Regions from separate parts of the Homo sapiens genome. Here region 2 is linked to region 1. Evidence: promoter capture Hi-C in 16 types of primary human blood cells and fetal thymus (Javierre and others, 2016). All regions are on one chromosome and are shown on one strand. The core of a region is centred on a gene start or on the middle of the fragment in contact, and the rest is flanking DNA. Distances in the headings are between cores, read along the strand shown.

Region 1 (2,906 bases), core at 181-2,680:
GGCCCTTCTTACGAGGCAAAAATTTCATGTTAGTTGGTAATTAATTTTGCAAATCTCTTGGCTATAAATACAAAAGGAAATCGTATAAAAGAAACCACTTAGGTCAAATGTAGAGGAAAAAAATGCTGGGACTGTAGATGTGGCTCTTCCATTAACTCCCTAAGTGGCCCTCACGACTTATTCCACTGGTTTGTGCCCTGGAAATCCTTACATGTAAAAAAAAAAAGGAGGTGGAGCAGGTGTTCAGTAAGGTCCCTTCATACTGTAAAATTCTATGATCTTAAGTTATTTACGATCATTTACTATTTTAAACGTTGCGAAAATTAACCTGGTATTTTACCAGACCTTTGTAAAAAGAGGAAGTTACATGACATACAATGAAGATAACGTCCTTAACTTTACGGTAGATGACAGTGGTTGAACAACTAGAAGAGAAAGTCAAAGTTATCTCGGGGAGTTTATATTGTACTTAGATTGAGCTGCACTTTGGAACCGTGTGGCCTTTTCACATGAGATCAGTGTCTTGATAAATACAAACTTCCTGAAAAGATGGGTTAAACCTCAAAGCCTGTGTAACTACAGCTTGACAAAGACTCTCGAGGAAAGGTAAACGGAAAGTGAGTTGGCAACACAACTCACCTACAAGTTCTCCAATCATGAAAAGCAAGTACAGAACGGCAGCAATGGTCAACCTGGCTTTCACCTTTCTCTGCTTCAGTATCTCTCTCTGTTTGCTGCAGTTGTCACAGGAGTCCACCTTCAAACTCAGCTGACTGTTGGTCAAAGGTAAGTCTTGGTCCAGTAAGGAATCATCGTCGGCCTGGAGGGTCGGGTGCGCCCCGTTAACAGGCCTTTCCGGGGCTTCGGAACCGTCATCGGCCACCACAACTCGAAGTTTGTTGAACCGAGAAAGCCCCTCGTCCCCCGCCTCATCCGAGAAGTCAAAGGCGCTGGTGTCATTTAAAAACAGCGGCGCATCATCCTTCCTTAGCATAGATTTGAGGCGCTTCCACGCGCCAGAGCCGGCCATGGCAGAGGCTGAGCGGCCGCGGTGCGGAACGGCTTGGGGGAGGCGGACGGCCGGCGGCGCCTACTTCACCGGAGCGCCAGTTCTCGAGGGCAGTGCCGCGCGTCCCTCCCCATCCTGTGGAAAACGAAACACGTTATAAATTAAAGGCGCCCAACCCTGTCCTCAAGTTCCGAAGCCGCTGGCGGCGGGTCGCAGGGCCGACCCCGACGCTCCGCCGGGGCTCCGCGAGGGGGCGGCACATCTATTTAATACCTGGGGCGCTGCCGCGGGGCCGCAACTCATCTCCCCGCCCCCGGCCGGCTCAGCGAGGCGGGCTCGCGCTGCTCCACCCGCGGCCGCAGGAGAGTGGGGTCGTGCTCGCGCCCGCCGCGCCCGCTGCTGGAGGCCGGCTCCCCAGGTCTGACAGGTTCGGGGCCGGACGCCCACAGCCACCGCCTCTCCCCGCCCTGCGCGAGGCCACGCGCGTGCGCCGGGCGAGGCGCGCGAGGGAGGGGTCGGCGCGAGGACACGCAGGCCTGGCGCGCAGGGCTGGGGCGCCCGCGATGGGCGGGGGCGCGCGGCGCGCCCCGCCTCTCGCCCCGAGGCTGGATTGGGGGCCACTGCGCCGCCTCCGCCCAGGGGTCACTCACTGGCCAACTGAGGGGACTTTGGGCGGCCTCTTCCACCTTCCCAGGCTGGGAGGCAAGTGCGGTCGGAGGGTCACGCCGGGGGCTGGGCGTTGCTGCTAGGAGTTCCCTCCACCGAAAGTGTGTCTCAGGAATCTCGGGTCGGGATCTGGGTTGCGGGTGCTCGGCAGAAGACAAACCCAGCACTTTTCTTGCTAACTGAAAAGGCAAGCAGCTTTTCTCTCCTCGAATTGCTTGTCTCTGGCAAATTGGCAACATTTGCTGCAGTCAACTGGAGAGGGCAAGGCTGTCGTCGTCAGCAGTTCTGTGTCCTACTGTTTTTCAGCAAATATGTATTGTCCTCTTTGTGCTCTCTGCCGTGTTCCTTTTGCCTCCAAGGTATTTACGATATGGACTAAACTCAAGCATAGAAAATCTAGTACAGGCATACCTTGGAGATACTGCGAATTTGGTTCCAGACCACCGCAATATGACAAAGTGAGGTCTCACAAATGTTTCATGTCCCAGTGCAAATACAATCATGTTTATAATGTAGTCTATTAAGCGTGTAATAGCGTTATGTCTAAAACAATGTGCATACCTTAATTTAAAATATTGGGAGAGAGGAAGGAAAAAGTATATATACATTTGTTAATTGCTCTGAGGAAGGAGGGTCGCATGAGCCCAGAGGTTCGAGATTACAGTGAGCTATGATTGTGCCTCCGCACCCCTGCCTGGCGACAGAGTGAGACCTTGTCTCTAAAAATAAACAAGTAAATAAAATACATGACTGCTAAAAAAATGCTATCAGCTGGGCGTGGTGGCTCACGCCTGTAATACCGGCCCTTTGGGAAGCCGAGGCGGGCGGATCACCTGAGATGGGGAGTTCAAGACCAGCCTGACCAAAATGGAGAAACCCTGTCTCTACTAAAAATACAAAATTAGCTGGGCATGGTGGCGCATGCCTGTAATCCCAGCTACTAGGGAGGCTGAGGCAGGAGAATCGCTTGAACCCGGGTGGCGAAGGTTGTGGTGAGCCGAGATCACGCCATTACACTCCAGCCTGGGCAAGAAGAGCAAAACTCGGTCTCAAAAAAAAAAAAAGCTATCAATCATCTAGGCCTTTAGCAAGTCATATTCTTTGCTAGTTGGAGGGTCTTTGCTCCTTGTTAATGGCTGCTGACTGATCTGGATGGTGGCTGCTGAAGGTTGGGGTGGCTGTGGCAATTCCTTAAAATAAGACAACAATGACATTTGCTATATTGATTGAC
Region 2 (2,817 bases), core at 1-2,500, 120 kb after region 1:
AATTTTATGTTCCAGTTTGACTGGACTATGGGGTGCCTAGAAATTTGGTCAAACGGTATTCTGGGTGTGCCTGTGAGGGGGTTTCTGGATGAGAGTAACATTTGAATGGGTAGATTGAGCAAAACAGATTGTCTTCCCCAATGTGGGTTGGCCTTACGCAATCAGCTGAAAGCCTCAGTAGAACAAAAAGGCGAACACTCCCGTGAATGAGAGACAATCAGCCCTGCCTGCCTGAGTGTCTTGGAGCTGGGATATCGGATGTTCTTCTGTGTTGAGAGTCAACTGAAACATGGCTTGTCCTGTGTCTTGAGCTGGCCTTGAGACTGAAACTGTACCATAGGCTCTCCCGGGTCTTCAGCCTGCTGACTACAGAATTGGGACTTAGCTTCTATAATCTTGTGAGCCAGTTTCCAGGAATGTCCTTCATGTAATAGGGAAATGATGATGTTTGCTTTGGTTGCCTCCCTCATTCCTTTCACCTCCTCCAGTTAAATCTTGTTTTGACCCTTTATTGGCTGTGGGTGCAGGGAGTTTTCCCATGTTCCAGGAGGCAGCCAGCTTGTAACTAGCAAGCATTGCTATGTTTGTATTTCTGATACATTTTCTAAAAGAGATCGCAGAACAAAGGGTCCTGACTCACCAAGGATACAGGTATTTGTTGTGATTTACTTTCTCATTCAAAATACATATTGGATATTGTATCTAATTTTGTATTGGTAATTTTGGGTTATGAAACCCCAGATTTGAAGCCCCAAATTGTATAGGGTTCAATGCCCATAAAACCCAGATCTGCCCCTGCTTAGAGGCCGGCCCCTCTAGGAGACAGCATGTGGGGCCACCCAGAGATGCAGGACTCTTCTGTTCTGCCCTATCGCAGCAGAGAGGCCATCCCTGGAGCTGGAAGGTGCAGACTGGGAATTGCTCCTTCTCTGAATTGCTAGCTCCTGCTAATGCCTGCATTGCTGCTGCAAAGGATATTCAGAAAAAGTTGCTCGTCAGAAAAAGAATTCATGCTAGCTCTGGCCCTGCTGCTGATGCATTGTGTGAAACCCTTGAGTGACTTCACCTCTTGGAACTCAGTTTTCCCATTTGTAAAGTGATATCAATACTTCCGGTGTGGGCTCAGGTTTGGGCCCTGTGAATTGTAAAGCTCTATGCACATGGGAGGATGTATGATTATAAGTTGTGTTGCTATTACTTGTATTGCTAATATCTTGCTATTATTGAAATATGCCCAAACCTTAACATTTCAGTGACTAAAGAGCAAAACCAGTGTTCACTCTGACATAGTTTTTTTAAATTTTTCATTCATTCACTCATTTTAAGTTTTTATTGTGTAAACTTTCATCAAACATGTACAAAAATAGACTGCCACAAGGAATGCCCATATATATCCATCCACTGATTTCAAATTATTGCCAACTCATGGCCCATTTTGTTTCATCTACACCCCTACCCACTTACACCTCCTAAAATATTTTCAAGCAAATTCCGAGTCATTTCAACTATAAGAATCTCGGTGTATATTTCTGAAAGATAAAGACTCCTAAAAAATTAAATCAGTACTATTATTGTACCTTGCCCTTCTCTGCCAAAAAAACTTAATTTCTTTCTTTTCAGTTTATTTAGTAAGCTAAAATTTAGTAACAGGGAGGCCGAGGCTGGTGGATCAACTGAGGTCAGGAGTTCGACACCAGCTTGGCCAACATGGTGAAACTCAGTCTCTATTAAAAATATATAAATTAGCTGGGTGTTGTGGTGGGCGCCTGTAATCCCAGCTACTCAGGAGGCTGAGACAGGAGAATCGCTTGAATCCGGGAGGAGGAGGTTGCAGTGAGCCGAGATCATGCCACCGCACTCCAGTCTGGGCAACAGAGTGAAACTCTGTTAGAAAAAAACAAAACAAAACAAAACATATATTCACTCTCACCTCCCACCTCACTCCATGGGATTCAACCAAGCTACTTTAACTTTTTTTTTTTTTTTTGAGACAGGGTCTTTGTCTGTGGCCCAGGCAGGAGTGCAGTGAGGCAGTCTCCACTCACTGCAACCTCCTCTTCCTGGGTTCAAGTGATTCTCCTGCCTCAGCCTCCCTAGTAGCTGGGATTATAGAAGCACACCACCACGCTTGGCTAAATTTTGTACTTTTAGTAGAGATGGGGTTTCGCCCTGTTGCCCAGGCTGGTCTCGAACTCCTGAGCTCAAGCAGTGCGCCCGCCTTGGCCTCCCAAAGTGCTGGGATTATTTTATTTTCATTCAAATTTAAAGTAGCTTGGGCCAGGCCCGGTGGCTCAGGCCGGTAAATCGCAGCACTTTGGGAGGCCAAGGCGGGTGGATCTCTTGAGGCCAGGAGTTTGAGACCAACCTGGCCAACATGGCAAAATCCCGCCTCTACTAAAAGTAGAAAAATTAGCTGGGCGTGGTTGTGGGTGCCTGTAATCCCAGCTACTCGGGAGACTTGAAGCACAAGAATCGCTTAAGCCCAGGAGGCGGAGGCTGCAGTGAGTGGAGATCATGCTGCTGCACTCCAGCCTGGGCGACAAGTGACAGAGCAAGACTGTCTCAAAAACAAAATAAAATAAAATAATTTCAGCCAACAGGCATTTTTCCTGAATTATTAGATAGTTTGAATTAAGTTCTGTTGCTTAGTCATGTGACCTTAGGCAAGTTCTCTATCTCTACTCAAACCCTCAATTTTATCATCTGTAAAATGGGGATTTTATTTATAAGGTTATGAGGAGTCTTTGAGACAGCACAAGTACAACTGGTAAACAATAAATGTTAGTTATTATTTCAATGATAGTTTTTTGTTTTTTT

Evidence for each region. Contacts are between HindIII fragments. The CHiCAGO score rates a contact against its expected background, and 5 or more counts as called.
Region 2: a fragment that was not itself captured here is called in contact with the fragment with the promoter of SLC30A4 in region 1 in 1 of 17 cell types (naive B cells); the score reaches 5.2 in naive B cells.

Annotation. Positions count from the first base shown.
Region 1 is chr15:45,521,325-45,524,230 of GRCh38, forward strand. SLC30A4 (solute carrier family 30 member 4) reads right to left here and starts at 1,431. Exons shown (of 8, transcript NM_013309.6): 1 at 1,283-1,431; 2 at 640-1,144. The coding sequence starts at 1,030. It also overlaps the pseudogene HMGN2P46. RefSeq lists a silencer at 1,134-1,623. The HindIII fragment of the contact is 8,884 bases long and covers 1-2,906 here.
Region 2 is chr15:45,645,358-45,648,174 of GRCh38, forward strand. All of the region lies in intron 1 of SQOR (sulfide quinone oxidoreductase), which reads left to right. Among named protein-coding and RNA genes, the nearest start is that of SQOR, 12 kb to the left of the region's middle. The HindIII fragment of the contact is 4,297 bases long and covers 1-2,817 here.